2 separate regions of the Homo sapiens genome follow, and region 1 is linked to region 2. Evidence: promoter capture Hi-C in 16 types of primary human blood cells and fetal thymus (Javierre and others, 2016). All regions are on one chromosome and are shown on one strand. The core of a region is centred on a gene start or on the middle of the fragment in contact, and the rest is flanking DNA. Distances in the headings are between cores, read along the strand shown. Region 1 overlaps OASL (2'-5'-oligoadenylate synthetase like). Region 2 holds the start of TRIAP1 (TP53 regulated inhibitor of apoptosis 1).

Region 1 (6,976 bases), core at 685-3,184, 570 kb after region 2:
TCACCATCCATCCTCTCAGGCTCCAGGGGAAGATCCCACGCCCCTCAGCCAGTCTCCCCAAACATAGTACCCTACCGGCTCTTGGCTTCCCTGCCACGTGCGGGCGTTGCTCCAAGCCCCAAGCCGGCATTGCCGCCTCGCGGCACCGCTCCAGCTCCTCCGCATCGCTACTGCTGTTACTACTTTCCGAATCGCTCACTGTGCCACTGGGCGCCGCCATCTTGAACCACCGCAAAGGATTGTGGAGAACACCGCCGTTATCAAGCCTCCTTCATGACGTCACGTGAGAGGAGAGGCGCGAGGCATTGTGGGGATTGTAGTTCCAAGACTTGGACCGCCATTGGCCATGAACTGTACTGGGTTGGGGATACCAGGTGGGAATGGGGAGGTGGGCGGTTCTCAAAGGCAAGAGCTAGAAGGGCCTAAGAGATTAACTTCTCCAATCATTTCTTGATGACAGATCTCCAGAGGGGATGGGAATCTCCTAAGGAGTTAATGACAGACCCAGGATTAGTTCCCAGGTTTTGATTCCATGTCATTTATTCTAGTAATTTCCCAGTCCAGCTGGGCCTAAGAAACACCTTAGAGAGCTGGTTAAACTGCAGACTTTTGGGTCTCACAGAAAATACTAACAGAATCAGAATCTCTGATAGGTGGAATCCAGGAATCTGTATTTCCTTTAATAGCCTAGGGCCTTACTACTTAAGAGTGTAGTCCATGAGCCAGCAGCATTGGTAACACCTGGGAGCTCGTTAGAAATGCAGAATCCAGGCTGGGCACGGTGGCTCACGCCTGTAATCCCAACACTTTGGGGGGCTGAGGCAGGCAGATCACAAGGTCAGGAGTTCGAGACCAGCCTGGCCAACATAGTGAAACCCCATCTCTACTAAAAATACAAAAATTAGCTGGGCATGGTGGCACGCACCTGTAGTCCCAGCTACTCAGGAGGCTGAGGCAGGAAAATCACTTGAACCTGGGAGGTGGAGGTTGAGGTGAGCCAAGATCGTGCCACTGCACTCCAGCCTGGGCAACAGACTGAGACTCTGTCTCGAAAAAAAAAAAAGAGAAATGCAGAATCCTGTCCGGGCACGGTGGCTCACATCTGTAATCCCAACACTTTGTGAGGCCGAGGCGGGCAGATCATGAGGTCAGGAGTTCGAGACTAGCCTGACCAACATGGTGAAACCCCATCTCTACTAAAAATACAAAAATTAGCCAGGCAATACTGACTCCCAGGACCCATCCAAGACCAAAAAATTAGAATCTCTGTGGTTAAAATACCTCACAGTGAAGGATGAACAAAATCACTTTACTTTTGTGTGTGGAATGCTGTTTCATGTTTTATCTTTGAAGACAGGTATGTCAAAACTTTACTAAAATAAACTCTCTGGCCTTGAGCTTTTTCTATTTCAAAGAAGAGGAAGGTGACTGATATGGTCTGAATGTGTTCCTCCAAAATTCATATGTTAAAATTGACACCATAAAATAAATAACAGAGAGACTGACTCTCCAAAATAAAGCGTTTATTCCAGAATTGCAAGGAATTGCAATTTGAGATATGCATGCTATAGTGGACTATAGGCACATTAAAAGAGGTTGTGGCAACGAGAAAAGACAAAGTCCACATAAGCTTCTTTAAAACAAGTACCGTTGATCACAGGAGCCTGTTGCAGGAGTTGGCTTTAGCTTATTGTGGAGACACCCACTGTTAGGCAAATATTCTTATGCAAGTGGTTTATCTATAATACTGCGGATTTTAGGAACTTCTTGAGATAATTTTTGTGACAGGCATTTGTTAGGGTTTGACATAAGTGACTCCATTTTGATACTGATAATTTCCAAAAAGTCCTTACTCCCAAGGTGATGGTATTAGGAGGTGGGACCTCTGGGAAGTAATTAGTGAAAGGGTCTTGTGTTGGTTCGAACCCCAAGAGCGTGGCCAACAGACAACATGAGGCAGTGTGTGTGCAGGTGGGCTGAGGCTTAAAATGGCGTCAGCACCAAATGAGGACGGGGCAGGGGTTTTGTAGTCTCCTGTAAACAGGAAGTTTCTCAGTCTGTTGTAACCGCTACATTGTACCCGGATGACGTCTCTCTCGGTCTTCAGGGGGTAGGTGTCTTCTGGCCCGCTCTCTTCCCGCTTCTGCTATCTTGCTGACACATGCTGCTGGCGCGAGTGGCCTTGCGCCTTGGGACCGGGCCCAAGGAGGGAGGGGAGGGAGGGGTCATTCATTCTCTTAAGCTTTCAGGCCCCACGGAGAATCTTTCAATTACATAATGGGTCCTGAGCCCTCATGAACTGGATCAATGCCTTCATAAAAGAGACCCCAGAGGCCAGGCATGGTGGCTCACAACTGTAATCCCAGCACTGTGGGAGGCCAAGACAGGTGGATCACAAGGTCAGGAGTTCGAGACTAGCCTGGCCAAGATGGTGAAACCCCGTCTCTACTAAAAATAAAAAAAAAATTAGCTGGGCACAGTGGTAGGTGCCTGTAGTCCCAGCTACTCGGGAGGCTGAGGCAGGAGAATCGCTTGAACCTCGGAGGCAGAGGTTGCAGGGAGCTGAGATCATGCCAATGCACTCTAGCCTGGGTGACAGAGCGAGACTCCATCTCAAAAAAAAAAAAAAAAAAAAAAAGAAGCGATCCTAGAGACACCTTTGCCTCTTCTACCATGTGAAGACTTAGTGAGAAGCTGCCATCTGTGAATCAGGAAGAGGTCCTCACCAGACACCAAATCTGCCAGTGTCTTGACTTGGACTTCCCAGCCTCCAGAGCTGTAAGAAATAAATGGTTATTGTTCATGAGCCATCCAGTGTATGGTATTTTGTTTTAGCAGCCCAGATGGACTAAGACATTGCATTTTTCATTCTTTTTTTTATTTTAAACAAGAATTTTCCCACCACCTACAATGTGGGCTGTGCTGGGCATTATGAAGGACACAAAGATGGGGACTGGAACAGCCTGTCTACCTCCTGGAAAGGAGGCACTTTTTCTGTCCCTGAAGGCAAACAGAGGTGGGAGATACACAGATTATGATTGCTAAATTGACCAGAGGCTGTTGATAACCAATTGCAGTGTGCATTTTCTATGCTATGGTAGGAGAGTAGCCCACCAGAAAACTAGGCAAAACAGGGGGGCAAAAGGAAACTTTTTATTGCTTGGAGTAAACCTGATCACATGACGTCCTTTGATAATAAAGATGCTATTACTTTCCTACAGTTTCCTGACTATTATGTACTGTTTGTGTATGGGTTTTAGGAGTTGAGGTGATTTTTTTTTACACTGCATCATCCTCAATCTCCCATTCTTTGTCTCTTTTTGCCTCAGTTTCCCCAGTCCTCATTTCTTAGAGTTGAGAAGCTCAAATGATCAAGCAATAACCATTAGGACAGCATTAGGCCCTGTGGAAATAAACAGCCCCCAAATGAGAACTAACAAAGGCGATTTATTCCCAACTTGCTATAGCAAAGGAACCAGCCACCCATCTCTCGCTTTTGACAGAGATTTAAAGACAGGCAGGAAAATGGGAAGGCTTCAGGGATGCCGTGATTGAGGCTGTTGGTATGGGGAAGCTGGAAGTGCACTCACCAGAAGTGGGGCTAACCATGTGATTGGTCTGGGGAGCTTATTTGGGTTTCTTGGGTTGGTCATAAATAGGAAGCAGGATGGGAGTAGGGTGGGGAGTTAGAGATGCTGCCAGTTATCGCCCAAGTCCTGATGGTTTGGGGTTGATTGCTGCAGAAGGCTGTGGGTCCGAATTCTGTTGCTGTGCGTCATGTGACCACACTATTTATTTGTATATTTAGTCCTCACACCCCTCCTCATCCTCCCCCTGGCAGGGCTGGGATAATCCTTTTTTTAAACGGATTTACTTATTTTTATGTTTTAGTTTTTAGACACAGGGTCTTGCTCTGTGGCCTGGGCAGGAGTGTAGCGGTGTGATCACAGCTCACTGCAGCTTCAGCCTCCTGGGCTCAAGTGATTCTTCTGCCTCAGCTTCTTGAGTGCCTGAGACTACAAATGTGCACAACCACACCCAGTGAATTATTTTTTTATTTTGTAGAGACGGGGTCTCCCTGTGATACCCAGGCTGGTCTTGAACTCCTCGGCTCAAGCGCTCCTCCCACCTCGGCCTCCCAAAGTTCTGGGATTACAGGTGTGAGCTACCACGTCTGGCCTGGGATAACTCATTGTAAAACTGGTGAAGACCTGGGACCTTCCCAGTAGACAATGGGACAGAGTGATTGACAGGATGAGTTCTGGAGTACATGGCAGAAATGTACAGAGAAGTCTCCCAGAGAAAACTAACTGGCTGGAAACAGAGCCTCTCCTTTCTTCTTCGAGAGGATGAGAGTGTCACTGTCTTGGATGCCATAGATCCCCAGACCCAACCAGTCCTGCAGGACTTGGCCTTGGAATTCCAGCTGCTGCTGCTTTTTAGGAAGCCCCTGCTGGTCTTCAATCTGCTGCTTCAGACCCAGGATGAAGCTGTTGGGGTTGATGGCATAGGCGTAGCTCCCACCATCAGGATTCTTCACGAAGACCTGGATCTCGGAGGGGATGGTCTCCAGCAGATAGATGTGAGTGTGGGAGAAGATCCCATATTTGGCTAAGGAGCACCTGCTGCTGAGAAGCTGCCTCTCACTGCCAGGAACCTGGAAGGACAGACGCTGCAGGCCAGAGTAGCCCCTGGTCCTCCGGATTTTCTCTTTAACCTTCCTTATGGGCTCATAAGGGTTCACGATGAGGTTGAAATCTGGGTAACCCCTCTGCTCCACTGTCAAGTGGATGTCTCGTGCCCTCTGGAAGGGAGAGGGAGAAGGAGAGGTGTTAAGTCCACACTTCTTTGTCTGATGTGCAAATGTTCCCTTCATCTGTCCTTATCTTTACAATAGTAGCAGCAGCAGCGGCAGCAGCAAATGTTTAGGGAGTGGTAAGCACTTTCCAGGCTGTATGCTGAGCACCTTCCATACCCTTAATGCATTTTATTCTCAGAGCATCTCTATTAGTTGGTTGGTTCTACTGTTACCCCCATGTTATTGATGAGGAAACTGAGCAGGGTTAGGTAATTTACTGAACACCAATCACATAGGTAGTAAGGAGCAGGGCAGATATGTGAAGTGAGGTTGGTCAGACTCCAGAGTCTGTGTTCTCACCACCTCCAGAGGCTACACTCCAGGGCCTGAGAGCCCCAGGTGGCTGGAGAGCACCTGGAAAATGCTGGCGAGGGTCAGGCCTCTAGCTGATTCTTTCCAGAAGAAATATAAGCCTTGGCTGGGTGCAGTGGCTCACGCCTGTATTCCCAGCACTTTGGGAGGCCAAGGCGGGCAGATCACTTGAGGTCAGGAGTTTGAGACCAGCCTGGCCAACATGGCAAAACCTATCTCTACCAAAAAATGCAAAAATTAGCCGGGTGTGGTGGCGTATGCCTGTAGTCCCAGCTACTCGGAAGGCTGAAGTGGGAGAATCTCTTGAACACAGGAGGTGGAGGTTGCAGTGAGCTGAGATCGCACCACTGCACTCCAGCCTGGGCAACAAAGGGAGACTCTGTCTCAAAAGGAAAACAAAAAAAGAAAAAGAAAAAGAAATATAAGCCTGGCATTGCCAAGTTTTCTGACTAGCCAAGATAAAAAATATTTGCACAATGTTGTGTGTGTTTGTTTTGTTTTTTGAGACAGGGCCTTGCCCTGTCACCTCAGGCTGCAGTGCAGTGGTGCAATCTTAACTCACTGCGCCTTGACCTCCCAAGCTGAAGCGATCCTCCCGCCTCAGTTTCCTGAGTAGCTGGGACCACAGGTGCGTGCCACCACATCTGGCTAAGTTTTGTTCTTTTTTTTTTTTTTTTTTTTCAGATGGAATCTCACTCTGTTGCCAGGCTAGAGTGCAGTGGCACGATCTTGGCTCACTGCAACCTCCGCCTCCCAGGTTCAAGCGATTCTCCTGCCTCAGCCTCCCTAGTAGCTGGGACTACAGGCACATGCCACCACACCCAGCTAATTTTTGTATTTTTAGTAGAGATGAGGTTTTACCATGTTGGCCAGGATGGTTTCGATCTCTTGACCTCGTGATCTGCCCACCTCGGCCTCCCAAAGTGCTGGGATTACAGATGTGAGCCACCGCACCTGGCCAAGTTTTGTATTTTTAGTAGAGACGGGGTTTCACCATGTTGCCTAGGCTGGTCTTGAACTGTTGGGCTCAAGGGATCCACCCGCCTCAGCCCCTCAAAGTGCTGTGATTACAGGCGTGCGCCACTGCCCCCAGCCTACAATGGCTTTTATATTCAGGAAAAATCCAGAGGCGTATATTTTCCAGCCCATGGGTGGGCCTCCTCATTTGGCCAGCGGGTCCCCCCGTTTATACTCTATGTACCTTACTGGAGCCTCTGATTCTGCTTCTGCCTTCTGCTCCAAGCAGTTCAGTCTCCTGTCCTGTACACATCTTGCTCATCCCAGCCTCCCATCCTTTACCCCTCATCATCCTTTGTCCTCTGTTCTGAGTGTCTATATCTCCCCCCGGCCTTTAGGGCTCATTTCAACTCCTAACTTTTTAAAGGAATCTTCTCTGGTGACTTCAGTTAACATTTATTCTGCTTCCAGACCCCCAGAGCCCCTGGTTCTGCTGCCTCTTAGCAGAGTGCCCTTAGTTAATTAACCTCTCTGAGCCTCAGTTTTCTCTTCTGTAAAATGGCAATAATAGTAATGATGATAATAATAATAAAGATAGTGATAACACTCGACCTTCTTACTTTACAGAATTGCTTATGAGGATCAACTGAGACAGACCTTGGACAAGAGCTTTGCACACTAGAAAGTGTGATGTTAATAAAATAGATTTTTGTGATCTCTGCCTATACTATAGGTTTGGCATCATATAATAATATGACTTAGTATTTTTTGTTTGTTTGTTTGTTTTCAGAGTATCTTGTCTTCTCTGGTAATTCTAGCAGTTTTGTGTAAGTTTGTTTCATGGATTTG
Region 2 (7,632 bases), core at 4,557-7,056:
ACTGGTTTGGACCGTTACTCTGCACATGGACCAGAAAAAGTATATGGGACCTTAAGCTCACCTTCTTTACTTGTATCAAATGATGACTGGTATACTGGTCTCCCATCCCTTTGCTTGTGGCAGGAGATGGCTTAAATAAATAACTTAAATTTAGATTGGTCATGAGCTGAGAGTTACTTTCTTTGGTTGTGTTTTTTCGCAGAAATTAGCATTTGAGCTTCAAGTCAGTGTCCAAGTTGAAAAGAAATTGGCATTAGTTATTTCTGTTTCCACAGTGAAGGTCTAGGCTGCTGTTTAGTGTTACAGGTCCAATTCAGCCCATTGAATAAGTGTTTATAACAGCCCCTCTTGGTTTATTGTGCCTGATGTGGATAAAGGGACCAAGTGGAGTGGTGCTAATTAAGCATCAAGATTAGTCCTTGGTCAGGTGCGGTGGCTCATGCCTGTAATCCCAGCACTTTGGGAGGCTGAGGCTGGCAGATCACCTGAGGTCAGGAGTTGGAGATCAGCCGGGCCAACATGATGAAATCCTGTCTCTACTAAAAATACAAAAATTAGTTGGGTGTGGTGGCGCACTCCTATAGCTGGGTGTAGAGGCTTGAACCCGGGAGGTGGAGGTTGCAGTGAGCCAAGATCGTGCCACTGCACTCCAGCCTGGGCAACAGAGTGAGACTCTGTCTCAAAAAACAAAAGATTGGTCCTTGACGGGCCTGAGATATCAAAGACATTGAATGGCTAGCAGAATGCCTGCAATTTACACCTGAAAGAGGTATCTGTATTTCTCAAGAGGAAGTGCTTGATCTGGGTCTCATCTTTTTCCTGTCCCATTCCACTAGCATTTACTGCAGAATCTTCCCTGTAGTCATAATTTTCTTGAACATGTCAAGTTCTTTTTTTTCTTTTTTTTTGAGACGGAGTCTCTCTCTGTTGCCCAGGCTAGAGTGCAGTGGCACGATCTCCACTCACTGCAAGCTCTGCCTCCCAGGTTCAAGCCATTCTCCTGCCTCAGCCTCCCGAGTAGCTGGGACTATAGGCACCCGCCACCACACCCAGCTAATTTTTTGTATTTTCAGTAGACACAGGGTTTCACCATGTTAGCCAGGATGGTCTCGATCTCCTGACCTCGTGATCCACCCGCCTCAGCCTCCCAAAGTGCTGGGATTACAGGCGTGAGCCACCGTGCCTGGCCTCGAATGTGTCAAGTTCTTACTTTGAGGTAATCTCCTTCAGGGCTGGTAGGGTCAGAAATCTTAAGAGAAACAAAGGGAGCGTGACACATTTCTGCTTATTGGCTTTTCTGTGGAATTAAAACTATCCTGCTTTAATGGATAGTAAATGGTAGTAGTAGTAGTTACAAAACCACTCTGAGAGGGCAATTATTATTATTATTATTATTATTATTTTTTTTTTTTTTTTTTTTTTTTTGAGATGGAGTCTCGCTCTGTCGCCCAGGCTGGAGTGCAGTGGCGGGACCTCGGCTCACTGCAAGCTCCACCTCCCGGGTTCACGCCATTCTCCTGCCTCAGCCTCCCAAGTAGCTGGGACTACAGGCGCCCGCCACTACGCCCGGCTACTTTTTTGTATTTTTAGTAGAGACAAGGTTTCACATGTTGGCCAGGCTGGTCTTGAACTCCTAACCTCAGGTGATCTGCCCACCTCAGCCTCCCAAAGTGCTAGGATTACAGGTCTGAGCCACTGTGCCTGGCCAGAGCTGGTTTATTTTATTTTATTTTATTTTTTGAGACAGAGTTTCGCTTTTGTTGCCCAGGCTGGAGTGCAATGGCATGATCTTGGCTCACCACAACCTCCACCTCCCAGGTTCAAGCAATTCTCCTGCCTCACCCTCCTGAGTAGCTGTGATTACAGGCATGTGCCACCACACCTGGCTAATTTTTTGTATTTTAAGTAGAGATGGGGTTTCTCCATGTTGGTCAGGCTAGTCTCAAACTCCCAACCTCAGGTGATCTGCCCACCTCAGTCTCCCAAAGTGCTGGGATTACTGGCGTGAGCCACCGCGCCCAGCCAGCTGGTTTATTCTTAAGGCTCAAAGGAACACTTTCGTGGTAAGGTTCAAGAGGCAACAAGGTATTTCATATTATATTACATTAAACTGGTAACGCAAAAGTAAGGCATATACAGTACGGAATAGAGAATCTCATTGTCTTTGCCATTTTGTAATAATTAACGGAATAGAGAATCTCATTGTCTTTGCCATTTTGTAATATTACAGCCTGCACTTCTGAGTCCCTATAGAGCTGTTTTGGTTGTGGCCAGTCTGAGTTTAGGACAGATGCATTATACTTCAGCTTGCTGCCTGGCCTCCCTTGGCTGGGTTCCAAACATCTTTTATAATCCTTGGATAATGGACCCTAGCCAGTCATAAAATATAAATGAAGAATGTTTTGAAATGACATTAAGGACAAGTCACATTAAATATGATGTAGCAATTGGTAAAGTGGAGAAAAGACAATAGAATTAGGGCCTTCTATAAATCAAGTTTCTTGGTTTATTTTTCAGACAGGGTCTTGCTGTGTCACCCAGCCTGGAGTGCAGTGGTACAATCACAGCTCACTGCAGTCTCCACCTCTCAGGCTCAGGTAATTCTCCCACCTCAGCCTTTAGAGTAGCTGGGACTACAGGCACACACCACCATACCCAGCTAATTTTTTTGTAGAGACAGGGTTTCGCTATGTTGCCCAGGCTGGTCTCAAATTCCTGAGCTCAAGTGATCCGCCCATCCCAGCTTCCCAAAGTGTTAAGACTACAGGCATGAGCCACCATACCCGGCCTGTAATTCAAGTTTCATACTACTTTGGGTATCTAATAAAACCAAATTACTCAATTAATTGTGGGGATTACGTGACATTCTGAGGTAAGTAAGTGCTCTCCTGATCCTTTTTTGGTACCGTAGTGTATTTGTATAGCCTATTGTGGAAATTTTAGAAATCAGTGAGGTTTTGGCTGGGTGCGGTGGCTCATGCCTGTAATCCCAGCACTTCGGGAGGTCAAGAGTTCAAGACCAGCCAACATGGTGAAACCCCATCTCTACTAAAAATACAAAAACTAGCTGGGCATGGTGATGCATGCCTGTAATCCCAGCTACTTGGGAGACTGAGGCAGGAGAATCATTGGAACCCAGGAGGTGGAGTTTGCAGTAAGACAAGATTGCGCCACTGCACTCCAGCCTGGGTGACAGAACCAGACTGTCTCAAAAAAAAAAAATGTGAGGTTTCTGATTGCCATACTGTACCACCTAGCTTAAGACAAGTCACTTTTTCTTCACCTTTAAGTTACAAAACACAAAACTCTCCCCACTGTATATATGAGGTTTGTAGGGTAACAGGGTAATAGTTCCATAAAATGCACTGAGTTCCAGAGGCAAATAATGATAGAAACTAAATGTTACAATTTATTCCATCTTCAGGATTACAGACATTACAGGGCAGGATGAGTAAACAAGGCAAATGAAGCGAGCACCTTCAGCTTCCCCCCTACCCCGACATTTAACCAGATGCAGCATTTTGACATTTTTAGGATATGCAGGTTGACAATTCACTGACTTGGGTTGAGAGCTGGCAATAGCAGATCTTTGCAATTTAGGTTCTTCCTCCACAGCTATTCCAAGTATCTTAATTCCTGAACTGCACACTGAGAGCTCTGAAATGGTGTTCACTGCAACATTCTTGCAGCTTTCACATCTTAATCTGACACCTCTTGTGAAGGCAGGGAACTGTGTTAAAAGCTGTCTTCCTCTTTGCTAATCCAGGCCACCATCAATCTTAACCATTAGTTACTATATAAAAATAAAAGTGTGCTCAAAAGCACTCACTGAAACTGTTGTGCCCAGATCCCTTTTCAGAGCATTAGTTCCCTGAGAGGAAAAAAAGAGGTCCTAACCAATTGCTTTCATAAATAGTGACCCCAGTACAGTGTATATGTCTTTTGCAGCAGAAATCAAGAGGTCAGGCAGCTCTGCTCATCCTGACTAGTTTATCATCGTTTGCATACAAGGTATATTTATGTAAAGCTGATTCCACGCCAAGTATTGCAACCATAATCTCAAAAAAATTGTTCAATTTTAGCACACAGTTCCTGCAAGATACCACAGCAGGTGAGAAATCATCTCAAAGAGTTCATCTTTTACAACTGAGAGGAAAACATCGAAGGAGGAAATAAAACTCCTCTCTCCTAAGTTCCTCATCAAATCTGATGGCTATGTTCACAGAGTTAGTTGACAAAAATCCAGAGTCCTCAATTTCTGGACTTGCGAAATCCTTCAAGGTGACTGTCAAGGTCAAGAAGAATTTTCAGGCTTTTCTTTGCCATGGCCCATGAACTCCAGTCCTTCAATAGGAATCTCTTTCTCCTTTATTGCTTTCTGGTAGGAGGAGAAAACACATTATAAAGACCTACATGAAGCTTAAGTTGCAAGCTTTGTAAATAAAATATGACAGTACAAAAGTAAAATCAAGCTGATTATAAAGACTTATAACCATGATTCAAACCACATACTTTTTAAAAAACAAGTACCGGTCAGGTGTGGTGGCTCACGCCTATAATCGCAGCATTTTGGGAGACCAAGGCAGGTGGATCACTTGAGGCCAGAAGTTAGAGACCAACCTGGCCAACATGGCGAGACCCTGTTTATACTAAAAATACAAAAATTAGCTGGGCATGGTGGCGCATGCCTGTAAGCCCAGCTACTCGGGTGGCTGAGGCATGAGAATAGCTTGAACCTGGGAGGCGGAGGTTGCAGTGAGCTGAGATTGTGCCATTGCACTCCAGGCTGGGAGACAGAGTGAGACTCTGCCTCAAAAATAAATAAAAACCAGAAGTACCATAATGAATAAATCAAGTGTAAGACCTGAGGGAGACTGGAAAAGGAGTTGTGAGGGAACCGTTAAAATTAAGTGAAATTTGAAAAATAATCATCACTTTGTGTTAGTGAAAGACTTAGGTTCAAATCTGGGTTCCAGGACTTACTGGCTATGTGACTAACTGTAAATGGGATGAAGACAGCAACTACCTCGGGGAATTGCTGTGAGGATGTGTTGGGTTAACTTATTGGAAGTGCTTTGCCCGGTGCTGTTCTTAACAATTCAAAGCAGTTCCACATCCATTGGGCCAGAATAAACATTTCCTGGCTGCAGTTGCGGGGACTGGTCAAGAGAGAGAAACAGGCTAACGAAGGGTTTATAACAACAAAAAAATGTGACCCTCCAGTCTGAATTCTGAAGTATAATCCCGCCCAGACCCCAGCAGTAATAGTGGAAAAGTGCACCACCTGCGAAAGAACCAAGGAAACCTGATGCTAGTGAACTCGGATTAATCACTTCCTATTTCTGGGTGTTAGTTTTTTATGTATAAAATATGAGTAACTATGCCCACCTTGCGAGTTTAGGGTGAACACCAAATGAACCAAAGGATGTGACTGTGCTTCTTGAAAAGCACTGCCCCAATATTTGTCATTCGGAGAGACACCCAAGTGGCCTCGGTGGTGATGGTAGGGGAGCGAGCTCCTGCCACTGGCCTCACTGCGACTTTTCTCCACCCTTCCAGTCCAGTCCCAATCCCCGTAAAATACGATGAGTGTGGTGGGACACAGCGCCGAGAATGCAGGGCCTGGGAACAGAGGCGGGAGGGCTCACCTGAACACACTGCTGGTAGCGCTTGAAGAGGTCGGTGCACGGGTCCCCGGAGCTGTCCCCCTTGAGAAATTTCTCGGCGAACCAGCGATTGAAGCACTGGTCGTACTCGCGCTTCATGTCCGTGCATGCCTCCCCCACACTGTTCATGGCGACAGTGGTGGCGGCGGCGACGACGGCGCACTCTGATGTCATCACTCTCAGGCGCGTCGCTCGGCGTTACGCGCGGGCGCACTGCGGGGGCCAAGGAAGGAAGAAATGTGGTCGCGGTTGGTGTGGCTGGGCCTTCGGGCCCCTCTGGGCGGGCGCCAGGGCTTCACCTCCAAGGCGGATCCTCAGGTAAAGGCCAGGGCCATCTAGGCGGGTGGCGGAGCAAGCCGGGAGGCACTTCGGAGCGCCGGTGACCCACACTCCCCGCCTCATCCCTCCTCCAGGGCAGTGGCCGGATCACGGCTGCGGTGATCGAGCACCTGGAGCGTCTAGCGCTTGTGGACTTCGGCAGCCGCGAGGCAGTGGCGCGACTGGAGAAAGCTATCGCCTTCGCCGACCGGCTACGCGCCGTGGACACAGACGGGGTGGAGCCCATGGAATCGGTCCTGGAGGACAGGTAAACTCGCGGCTGCAGCCCCGAAGCCTTGACCGTGGCCCGTTCGCAGCCGTTTAATGTGACGATTAGCGAACAGTTTTCCAGGGGGTTAAAGAGTGTTAGCAAGATTCAGGAACTTGCCCACAGTCACCTCGCGAGTCAGTGGCTTCACTCTTCCCCTTGTTCATTACTGATGCTCTCGCTAGTGTAAGTGGAAACAAAACCCGAACTGCTAATCACTGCCTTTGTTTTTTTTTTTGTTTGTTTGTTTTGTTTTTTTTTTTTTGAGACGGAGTCTCGCTGTGTTGCCTAGGCTGGAGTGCAGTGGCTCGATCTCGGCTCACTGCAACCTCCGCCTCCCGTGTTCAAGCAATTCTCTGCCTCAGCCTCCCGAGTAGCTGGGATTACAGGCGACTGCCACCAGGCCCGGCTTATTTTTTTTGTATTTTTAGTAGAGACGTGGTTTCACCATCTTGGCCAGGTTGGTCTTGAACTCCTGACCGTGATCCACCCGCCTCGGCCTCCCAAAGTGCTGGGATTACAGGTGTGAGCCACCGCGCCTGGCCTAATCATCGCCTTTAAGGCCCTACTCCATAGAGTCCCTACCTACTCACTCCAACGTACTCTTCTCAGTACTCTCCTTGGCTACCTTGACTGCTTCTCCAGCAAGACAAGTTCTTTTCCTCTCTAGATCTCTGCACTGGCCCTTCGTTTTTTTCCTTCCTCTCAGTATTTGCATGGCTGCCTCCCTCTTGGCACAGGTCTCAGCTTATCTTCTCAGAAAGGGCTCTCCTAACCACTCCAAATCCCTTCTCCCCTTCTAGTTAGTAACTCATCCTATTGGGTTTTTTCCCTAACATTTTAATGGACTTTTGTTCATTTGTTATATCTCTTTTATTAAAATGTGAGCTCATTATGTAGTTACTGTTTTATTCCTGCCTTGAATTTTTATTTTATTTGTTTTTGAGATGGAGTCTCACTCTATCACCCAGGTTAGAGTGCAGTGGCATGATCTCAGCTCATTGTAATGTCCACCTCCCAGACTCAAGAGAGCCTCCCATCTCAGCCTCCCAAGTACAGGACCACAGGCGCGTGCCACTTGGCCTGGCTAATTTTTTGTATTTTTGATAGAGACGGGATTTTGCCATGTTCCCCAGGCTTGTCTGGACTCCTGAGCAAAGGTGATCCACCCATCTCAGCCTCCTAAAGTACTGGGATTACAGGCATGAGCCACAGCACCTGGCCGTGTTTGATTCTTTCAAATGTCTTCTCTACTTTGCAATTTTCTTTTTCCTTTGGGACGGGGTCTCACTATGTTGCCCAGGCTGGTCGCAAACTTCTAGACTCAAGAGATCCTCCTGCCTCAGCCTCCCAAATAGCTGGGACTATAGGTGTGCACCA

Evidence for each region. Contacts are between HindIII fragments. The CHiCAGO score rates a contact against its expected background, and 5 or more counts as called.
Region 1: a fragment that was not itself captured here is called in contact with the fragment with the promoter of TRIAP1 in region 2 in 1 of 17 cell types (M0 macrophages); the score reaches 5.2 in M0 macrophages.

The regions. Positions count from the first base shown.
Region 1 is chr12:121,016,255-121,023,230 of GRCh38, forward strand. It overlaps OASL (2'-5'-oligoadenylate synthetase like), which reads right to left. Exons shown (of 6, transcript NM_003733.4): 6 at 2,857-4,804. The coding sequence ends at 4,307. C12orf43 (chromosome 12 open reading frame 43) reads right to left here and starts at 233. Exons shown (of 6, transcript NM_022895.3): 1 at 76-233. The coding sequence starts at 220. RefSeq lists an enhancer at 1-408 and a silencer at 136-329. The HindIII fragment of the contact is 612 bases long and covers 1,629-2,240 here.
Region 2 is chr12:120,440,578-120,448,209 of GRCh38, forward strand. TRIAP1 (TP53 regulated inhibitor of apoptosis 1) reads right to left here and starts at 5,807. Exons shown (of 2, transcript NM_016399.3): 1 at 5,649-5,807; 2 at 3,387-4,378. The coding sequence starts at 5,795. The coding sequence ends at 4,295. GATC (glutamyl-tRNA amidotransferase subunit C) reads left to right here and starts at 5,867. Exons shown (of 4, transcript NM_176818.3): 1 at 5,867-5,984; 2 at 6,080-6,252. The coding sequence starts at 5,904. It overlaps COX6A1 (cytochrome c oxidase subunit 6A1), which reads left to right. Exons shown (of 3, transcript NM_004373.4): 3 at 1-153. RefSeq lists enhancers at 4,989-5,836, 5,148-6,347, 5,562-6,111, 5,709-6,003, 5,837-6,682. The HindIII fragment of the contact is 13,544 bases long and covers 4,431-7,632 here.